Linked DNA regions of Homo sapiens: regions 1 and 3 are each linked to region 2. The links are contacts of gene promoters, found by promoter capture Hi-C in blood cells and fetal thymus (Javierre and others, 2016). All regions are on one chromosome and are shown on one strand. Each heading gives the region's core, a stretch centred on a gene start or on the middle of the fragment in contact. The rest is flanking DNA. Distances are from core to core; before and after follow the strand shown. Region 1 holds the start of KRTAP22-2 (keratin associated protein 22-2). Region 2 holds the start of KRTAP23-1 (keratin associated protein 23-1). Region 3 holds the start of KRTAP19-2 (keratin associated protein 19-2).

What was found. The method cuts DNA at HindIII sites, captures the fragments that hold promoters and counts their contacts. A CHiCAGO score of 5 or more calls a contact.
Region 1: a contact is called between the fragment with the promoter of KRTAP22-2 here and the fragment with the promoter of KRTAP23-1 in region 2, in 7 of 17 cell types (naive CD8 T cells, total B cells, M2 macrophages and 4 more). The highest score is 7.4, in naive CD8 T cells.
Region 3: the fragment with the promoter of KRTAP19-2 here is called in contact with the fragment with the promoter of KRTAP23-1 in region 2 in 2 of 17 cell types (total B cells and naive B cells); the score reaches 5.5 in total B cells.

The regions. Positions count from the first base shown.
Region 1 is chr21:30,589,017-30,592,107 of GRCh38, reverse strand. KRTAP22-2 (keratin associated protein 22-2) reads left to right here and starts at 1,711. Exons shown (of 1, transcript NM_001164434.1): 1 at 1,711-2,003. The coding sequence starts at 1,734. The coding sequence ends at 1,871. The HindIII fragment of the contact is 4,540 bases long and covers 1,402-3,091 here.
Region 2 is chr21:30,347,089-30,350,348 of GRCh38, reverse strand. KRTAP23-1 (keratin associated protein 23-1) reads left to right here and starts at 1,743. Exons shown (of 1, transcript NM_181624.1): 1 at 1,743-1,950. The coding sequence starts at 1,743. The coding sequence ends at 1,940. The HindIII fragment of the contact is 4,066 bases long and covers 1,027-3,260 here.
Region 3 is chr21:30,485,831-30,489,134 of GRCh38, reverse strand. KRTAP19-2 (keratin associated protein 19-2) reads left to right here and starts at 1,699. Exons shown (of 1, transcript NM_181608.2): 1 at 1,699-2,092. The coding sequence starts at 1,787. The coding sequence ends at 1,945. The HindIII fragment of the contact is 2,321 bases long and covers 1-2,143 here.

The DNA of each region.
Region 1 (3,091 bases), core at 462-2,961, 240 kb before region 2:
GTTCACTTCCCAGAGAGACTTTTAATGGCCACCTTATATTAATTAGTCTACCTCCAGTAACTGAACTTAATGTAACTCACTGAGTTTTATTATTCTCACAGGATTCTTCACTGTTAGAATCTATTTCATTCATTTTTAAAATCAGTCTCTCTATCCCTTCTGTCTCATTGTAACCTGCAGAAAGTAGAGACTTTGTCTATTTTGTTCATCTGCTCAATCTGCATTTCTTATAACGGTGCCTGATACAGCAGATTCTTAATAAAGATTTGATGAATTAGTGAAAAAATAACCAAATGAATGACATGATGCAACTTTCTATACTCAAATTCTGTGTAGAATAATCACAATCTTTGTTCTATGCTTGGGGTAACTGGGGATAAATTCATGTACTCTGGGATCCTTTTGGATCATATGCAAACCAGTGGAGGAATTTATCATGGTGATTTTTTTCTGGTTTGAGAATCCATGCCTTTTCCGATTGTTAAGGTGGTGGTATATATCCACTAAAGTTTATGAACTACTGTGTGCAGTTCCGAAATTCTGACTAAATGTTCTACTTGCCTCTTATTGATATGATACTTTGCCAGTCTCACATTGATCTACAAAGTATGATCCCTAGGTTGATCATTGGTAGTTCTGCTACATTTAAGAGTAGCAAATGAATTAATATGTACTATTATTTGTTTATATTTTATTCTAATTGCTTTATCATAATAAATGACTAATAATTCATTAATAATATTTAATAAGTGGATGGAATAAACGTGACAAATTATCACAGGGAGCTTCATAGAAAGTCAGCTCTCATAATTAAGGCTATCACCAGAATGCATTTGGGCCAGAAATGTGGTTTGCTGATGTTATTCTATCCAAGTCACCACTTTAAAAAATAGTAACAGGAATTCTGCTAGAAGATGAAAAGTATTTTTACAATACTTTTGGAAATTTGGAATTAATATATTTTAAAATAAGCAAATTCATTAAATATAAAAAGAAGGTAAAATATGTGAATATTATGTGTCAGGAGAGGAAAACATGAATTTTGAGATACGGTGGGTAATTGTTTCTAATTGCTTTCTCAGATGCAAAGAGAACACCACAACTAATAATATAACCAAAGTGAGGATGATGGAAGAGAAAAAACTTTACTACTCCAAGAACATAAGCTACATATGAACTTGGAAGAAAATTTTTAGTCCCATTGATTAAGAAATAAATTAGTCAAAACATACAGGCATATTTGCAAGTAAATAAAGACATTTTCATCGGCTTCCTCACTGCATAGCCAACCTTCCCTAACCATTCCTGGCCACTCTGTGGTTTAAGGACTGCATTTATGGAGGTAGAGGAGGATATTGAAAAAGAAAAAAGAAATGTTTCAAGAGGCAGGAAATATAAGCTTAATGTGATCACAGAGAAGCTAATCATCAAGTTTAAATTGGGATTTTAAGTAAGCAAAAGCCACAAAATTAAGAGAATATCTCCTTAAGGCTCATGATTTTACTTGTTGGCATCCTGACACATAGCAATATTAATATTTTCCTGGACATATGGCTAAGAGATTCTTGAGGGTTTTTTTAATCTTAATGCAAATTAGTTGTGAGAATGAGTCCAATGTAGATTGTGGTTTCCTTCACATATAACTCAGGTTGGATAAAATAATTTGTACAAATCAGGAGAGTCAAATTTCAGAAACTACTATCTGCCTCAATTGAACTCCATCTTCTGACACCATGTGCTACTACCACAACTATTATGGTAGCCTGGACTATGGTTGCAGCTATGGCTCTGAATATGGTAACTCTGGATATGCCTGCAACTTTCCGTGCTCCTATGGAAGATTCCTATTGGCTCCTAGAAAGAAATTCTGATTGCTGATCACTTTGAGCCATTTTCTTGTGATGCACTAATTGCATCAACAGGGTTATTTATGGATTCGTTATTGTCTCTCCAATTTTAACTAACTCTAATTATTGATTACCACAGGTCATATTTGCATTGGATTAGTGGAATTTCCTACCAGTTAGTGGGAAAATCCTTTGATATTTTGTTAGTTTTATGTGTTTATGTCTGTTATAATATTAACAATTTCCATGCAGGAAAACTTATAAATTTGCATTTTAATAAATATAATCACTTTCACAATATGTATTGCTTATCATATATATTCATTTCTCTTTATCATTTGTGTATTTGTGTGTGTGTGTGTGTGTGTGTGTGTGTGTGAAAGAGAGAGAGAGAGAGAAAGGGAGAAATAGAAAGAGAGAGTGAAATTGCTACCTGTGGCTATTTTAGTCAGTGATGTGACAAAACAGGCAACTCATGACTGATGTTTTTCCAAAAATGTTTGTATAAAAGTAATTTCAAGTTCAGTTTCAAGAATACTGTTCTCTATATTGATCTAATGCAAGTTTCATTTTAGAAAAATTCAATGTTTGACCTAGGTAATTGGCAAAACCAGTAGCACTATTACCCACCAAGCTATTTTCTACTGCAATTTTCTCTCTCCTAATAGTCTACATTTAAACATGTGCTTCTGTACTGATACAACTCCAGCCCTGCATTGAGTACTCTGACCTCTTTTCACTCACTCTTATAGATAAGAATCCTCTATATGAAGCTGGTTGGTATGCCTGATAATCCTGTGTTTCCACAGCAAAGATCACCTCATTTAGAGATCTAAGTGACTCTTTTGAGTTTTTCTAACTCTGATCATCTTCTAGCAGAATTCCTGTTACTATTTTTTAAAGTGGTGACTTGGATAGAATAACATCTTGCAAACCACATTTCTGGCCCAAATGCATTCTGGTGATAGGTCTTAATTATGAGAGCTGACTTTCTATGAAACTCCCTGTGATAATTTATCATGTTTATTCCATCCACTTATTAAATATTATTAATGATTAGTCATTAATTATGATAAAGCAATCAGAATAAAATATAAACAGATAATAGTACATATTAATTCATTTGCTACTCTTAAATGTAGCAGAACTACCAACGATCAACGTAGGGATCACACTTTATAGATCAATATGAGACTAGTGAAGTATCTCCCAGCCCCCAAGTGCAGGCTTTCTGAAAGCAAACG
Region 2 (3,260 bases), core at 494-2,993:
CTGTCCTGGAACCTATTTATCTGGAATAGTGCAATTTGAAGAAGGTCTTGTGATAACCCTTGTTACAGGCATGTGTGCACGAGGATTTTTTTTGTGGCCTCTCTTGACCCCATTTTGTTAGAGTTTGACATAAATGACTCCATTTTGGTACATCTTTCACAAAGGGATTTGGTGCAATGTGAGCAATGCATTTGGTAGAAATTTGTTAGCAAAACAATGGACAAAATATTCCATTGTTGCCAGATAAGCAAATATTACAGGAGATTACAAAAAACAATCATCTATGAAACAGTTTGAAAAGATCAAATTACATAAATAGCTTTTTGCTTTCCAATTTCTAAAAGATGCTTGAAGGCAGAAGTTGGATATGATAACAAGTGGGGAAAAAGACATTTCTAATTCCAAGATTTTTCTTTATACCACTGATGTTTTATAGTGGTAAAGATAATTTTAACCACTTAATATAATGGTAAATTTTATGCTGCTTTGTCTTCCTAGAAGGATGAACAAGAGAAGCTCAGCAAGGAGTGAAATGAATCACTCTGGAAGGTGTCGTATTTCTCACTCCCAACTGAGTTGGCAAAAGGTCGGCACCCTATTAAAATTCAAGCTTCTGCAAATGTATTTTATTGGTAGTCAACTCACTAAAGGCATATCAGTTTTTCGCAACTAGTCCCAGTGAAAGTCTGTGTTTGCCAAAGAATTTTCTGCCTCACACTGAAAAAGAATCTAATAACTCCATGGTGGATAAAACATGAGTTGCTTAACTAGGATAAACTGAGTGAGAGGGCAAATAGAAGATAATTTGTAACAAAGCATCTCCATAGTAACTCTGAATACTAAAAAAATAACCAAAATCAATTAAGAAGCTGTCCCCTCAGTTGGCTATATTTGGGGAATTCATAAAAGGGGTAAGAATACTCAAGTAGATATATCAGATGAAATGCAAATATTAACACCTTGGAATTTTTTTTTCACCTGCATACTCAATTGTCCATGTGATTCTGGGAGCAGAAATTACAAGCTTCACAAATTGTCTATATAGCTCTGTGGTTTGTGCTAGCCTTAAAGACAGACACACCTGGGATGACATGGGGTCCATGATTTGTTTGATTTATTACCTGAATGTTACATAACTTTTCCAAACCTCCATGGCCTTACTTCTAAATTGTTTATGACAACTTGTATCTCATAAGATATTTGCAAAGATTAAATCATACCACACTTTTAAATGTTGCGCATGTAGTTAATGCTTAATAAAACATATGTAAATAATGGGGGGTGGGTGGCTGCTGATTACTGTTGGGAGTACATTGCTGGTAAGAATTTGTAGGCTGAAGCTCAGAATACCCACAGTCAAGCTCAGTAAAAGGGGTGGGGAGGCACTGTATGTATCATCACCAATGTTTCTGAAAGCAAACCAAACCTTATTTCTGCAGAGAGAGAGAGAGAGAGAGAGAGAGAGAAAGAGACAGAGAGAGAGAGAGAGAGAAGCCAATGGGCTTCTATAAACTGGAATGATTACACTGCTGTTAAAGACAAATGAATGTGTTGAGTTATAATTATAACCTAGGTTACTTAGTCATTTGATGAAAACACATTCACAAGAATGGGGGGGTTCCCGGATACTGCATCACGCCCAGCAGTGTGAGGGTGTAAACATCACTGGATCATTGGGCACAGGCAGGGACATCAGGGCATCTTCTCAATGCAGCTCAGCTGAACTCACATCTCCTGTCAACATGTCCTACAACTGCTGCTGTGGAAACTTCTCCTCCCATTCCTGTGAGGGCTACCTGTGCTACTCAGGCTACTCCCGTGGTGGCTCCTCGTACCCCAGCAACCTGGTCTACAGCACTGAACCTTTGATCTCCCAGCACCTGCCAGCTGGGTTCCTCTCTCTGCAAGGGCTTTCAGGAGACTTGCTGGGAAACCCCTAGCTGCCAGATGTCCTGTGTGGAGTCCAGCCCCTGCCAGACCTCCTGCTACCGCCCCAGAAGCTCCGTGCTCTGCAGTCCCTGCCAGTCGACTTACTCTGAGTCTCTAGGCTTTGGATCCAGCAGCTGCCGCTCCCTGGGCTATGGATCTAGGAGCTGCTACTCAGTGGGCCGTGGGTCCAGTGGCGTCAGATCCCTGGGTTATGGAGGCTGTGGCTTCCCTTCCCTGGGCTATGGATCTGGATTCTGCCACCCAACATATGTTCTCTTTAGGACATTCCAGTCTTCCTGTTACAGACCAACTTGTGGATCTGGCTTCTACCGATCAACTTGCTAAGGGCTCCAAACCTCCACATTACAATTATTTCTCTCAAAGTCCATCTCAGCTATCATCTGGCTAGAACCTATATTCTACTATCCAGAAAAGATAATTGTTTTAAACTTATTAATATTAAAATAACATTTCTCATAGAATACTCATCTCTTTTTCTTCTGTTTTCTTGTATTTTCCCTTCCTTCTCTAGTTAAAAATGGAGCAAGAGTTGATTTCTTTTTCTTCAAATAAACTCATTTAATCTGATATCAGATCACAAATCTTGTGTTAATTTTCTTTATAAGATGTCTGTCGGGAATTTGAAACCCCCACTTTTTGTCTAAAAATAAAATATTCACTTTGAGGGAAAGGAGTAGGTTCCTTGATAGGCAGAGTTTTCTAACAACAGAGATCTAGTTCCTGGGAATTTCTGCCAAGTAGACTCAGAGATAGGACAGGAGATTATCTCTGTTTTTCTATTCATGGCCATTTAGGCCTAATCAGGACACTTCACTTTGGTTAAGCTACTCATGGGTCTAGTCTAGGAAGAAAATATCCAGAGACAGCAGTGATGTTTTAGCAAGTACTAGCCTGGCTGTTTTTATGAGAACATTATCAAAATCCTTCCTGTAATCTTCCTTCCCAGACATATATAAGCCACAATGAAATTCTGAGGTCAGGATTTTAACTGAGTTCAGTAGCAAGTGTAATGAAACAAATAGTTTAGGTATACATGAAATTAAAGATGTATGCATTCCACTATAATAAGAAGAATATAATATCTAAGAGTTTTTTTTTTTTTAATTTGATGGTTCACTCCCTCCTCCTTTCATTAGGTCACTATAAAGCCATCCGGTGTTATAATAGAAGTCACCTGAAAACTGTCTGAAACCTGGCAGTATCATGCATAGGTGACACGGACTGAGAGATAAGACTTTACCTCTTGATATCCTGGGCTTGTATCTGGATGCAAAACTAGACAGTCCATTATATTCTTACATTAAGTGGAA
Region 3 (3,304 bases), core at 450-2,949, 140 kb before region 2:
TGTGTGTGTGTGTATGTGTCTGTTTTAGACAGTTTCACTCTGTTACCCAGGCTGGAGCGCAGTGGCATGATCATGGCTCACTGCAGCATTGACCTCCCAGGGATCAAACAATCCTCCTGCCTTTGCCTCCCGAGTAGCTGGAACCACAGGTGTGCACCTCACACCTGGCTATTTTTTGATTTTTTGGTGGAGACAAGGTCTCCCTATGTTGCCCAGGCTACTCTCAAACTCCTGGTGATATAGTTTGGCCATGTCCCCATCCGAATCTCAACTTGAATTGTATCTCCCAGAATTCCCATGTGTTGTGGGAGGGATCCAGGTGGAAGTAATTGAATCATGAGGGCTGGTCTTTCCCTTGTTATTCTCATGATAGTGAGTAAGTCTCATGAGATCCGATGGGTTTATCAGGGGTTTCCGCTTTTGCTTCTTTCTCATTTTCTCTTGCCGCCACCATGTAAGAAGTACCTTTCACCTCCTGCCATGATTCTGAGGCCTCCAGAGCCATGTGGAACTGTAAGTCCAATTAAACCTATTTTTCTTCCCAGTCTCAGGTATGTCTTTATCAGCAGTGTGAAAACAAACTAATATACCTGATCTCAAGTGATCTTCTCACCTTGGCCTCCAGAATTACAGGGGTGAGCCACTGTGCCCCACCTGAAGAGAATATCTTTGAACTGCTGTTCAGGCTGGTGTAAAACTGAGTTTATTCTCTTGGATAATATATCAGTTTCTGGAATAAATTTTGTTACATTGATAAGCCAAAACAATGTTTTGCAAGCTGATATAGAAAATTAAAGTAGTTTTATATTATGTCTACATACATATTTTCCATTACTTTGTGTTTACCACAGCTGATAAGAAAATTTATTTATTCAAAAACTTCCTTTTCTTTTGAAGGAGGAATAGCCTTAATTTCTCAACGCAATAAAAATATTTGATATTTGAAGGCTTTACTAGATTTAAAAGTTTTAAACTTGATCGATTTATTTGAATCTAGGTGGAGGTAAAATAGAACAATCTAAGGAATGGTGTAAAAATGAGAAATGAGAAAACATTTAATAAAAACACAGTGTCAAATACAAATAATTCAATATGCATAGTGATGAAGAATTTAGGATTTTTTAAAAATTGTGTAACTTTGAAGATGCAGACTATTTTATCATTAAAAAGAATGTATCAGCTGGGCGCAGTGGCGCAAGCCTGTAATGCCAGCACTTTGGGAAGCCAAGGTGTGTGGATCACCTGAAGTCAGGAGTTCGAGACCAGCCTGGCCAACATGGTGAAACCCTGTCTCTACTAAAAATATAAAAATTAGCTGAGAGTGGTGGCAGACACCTGTAATCCCAGCTACTCAGGAGGCTGGGGCAGGAGAATCACTTGAACCCAGGAGGTGGAGTTTATAGTGAGCTGAAATCACAACATTGCACTCCAGCCTGGGTGACAAGAGCAAGACTCCATCTTAAAAAAAAAATGTAATAAGTTCAAGGGCATTCTAACCATGCAGCTAAGCCAGCTCAAAGATTTTAATGAGTTTGTGTCTCTCCTTGTGCTAACAAACAGATTGATTATTTGTATAGAGTAGATAAATAAATTGGGATGCTGCAAAAGGATGGCCACATGTTTATCACATGTTCTGCTCAGGGTATATAAGCGTTCCCTAAACATGCTATATTCACACTCAGGACCTTGCCTGGGACAGCAAACCCAACTCACTATCTCTGACACCGTGAGCTACTAGGGCAGCTACTGTGGAGGTCTGGGCTATGGCTGTGGAGGCTTTGGTGGCATGTGCTATGGCTACGGCTGTGGATGTGGCAGCTTCTGCAGACTGGGCTATGGCTGCGGCTATGAAGGATGCAGATATGGTTGTGGCCACAGAGGCTGTGGAGATGGCTGCTGCTGCCCATCATGCTACAGAAGATATAGATTCACTGGCTTCTACTAAGCTGCTGCTCTAGTGATGCAGCATCTGTTATTTTGAAGGGATTTAAAAACAAGTTACTTACTTCTAAGATACAATGGGGGTAAAGGTGTAAATGTGTAAATGCTCCCATTCCAAAGGGAGAAATTGACCAAAACAAAGGGGCTATAAGACCCCAAACAAGTCCAAAACCCAGCAGGGCAGTCATTAAATATTAAAGCTTCAAAATAATCTCCTTTTACTGCATGTCTCACACCCAGGCCACATCGATGCAATGGGTAGACTCCCAGGGCATTGGGCAGCTCCACTTCTGTGGCTCTGCAGGGTATAGTTCTCCTGGCTGCTTTCACAGGCTTGCATTGAGTATCTGCAGCTTTTCCTGGCACACAGTGGAAGCTGTCTGTGGATCTACCATTCTGGGGTCTGGAGGATGGTGACCCTCTTCTCAGAGCTCCACTAGGCAGTGTCTCAGTAGGGACTCTGGGTGGGGGCTCTAAACCCACATTTCCCCTCCACATTGCCCTAGTAGAGGTTTTCCATGAGGGCTCCACACTTGTAGCAGACTTCTGCCTGGAAATCTAGGTATTTTCTTACTCCCTCTGAAATCTAGGCAGGAGCTCCCAAGCCTCAACTCTTGCCCTCTGTGCACCCACAGGCTTAACACCATGTGAAAACCTTGGCAGCTCCTCGCTTGCACACTTGGGAACATCAGCCTGAGATGTATCTGGAGCCCTTTTACCGATGGCTGGAGCTTGAGTGTCTGGGACTCAGGGCAACATGTCCCAAGGCTGCACAGAGCAGTGGGTCCTTGGGCCTGGCCAACAAAATCATTTTTCCCTCCTAGGCCTCCAGGCCTGTGGTGAAAGGGCTGCTGCAATGGTCTCTGAAATGACTTGGAGGCATTTTTCCATTGTCTTGGCTATTAACATTTGGCTCCTCTCTACTTATGCAAATTTCTGCAGCAGGCTTGAATTTCTCCCCAAACAATGAGATTTCATTTTCTATGACATGGCTGGGCTGCAAATTTTCCAAACTTTTATGCTATGTTTCCCTTTTATGCTCTGGAAATATAAGTTCCAGCTTCAGATAATCTCTTTGTTCAAGCATATGAGGGTATGCTGTTAGAAGTAGCCATATTACATCTTGAATGATTTGCTGCCTAGAAATTTCTTCTGCCAGATACCCTAAATTGTCTCCCTCAAGTTCAAAGCTCAACGGATCCCTAGAGCACAGGCACGGTGCTGCCAGTCTCTTTGCTAAAGCATAGTAAGTGTGACCTTTTCTCCAGTTCCCAATAAGTTTCTCACCTCCATCTGAGACCACCTCATTTGGGCTTTATTGTCCATGTCACTATCAGCGTTTTGGTGACAACAATTTAACAAA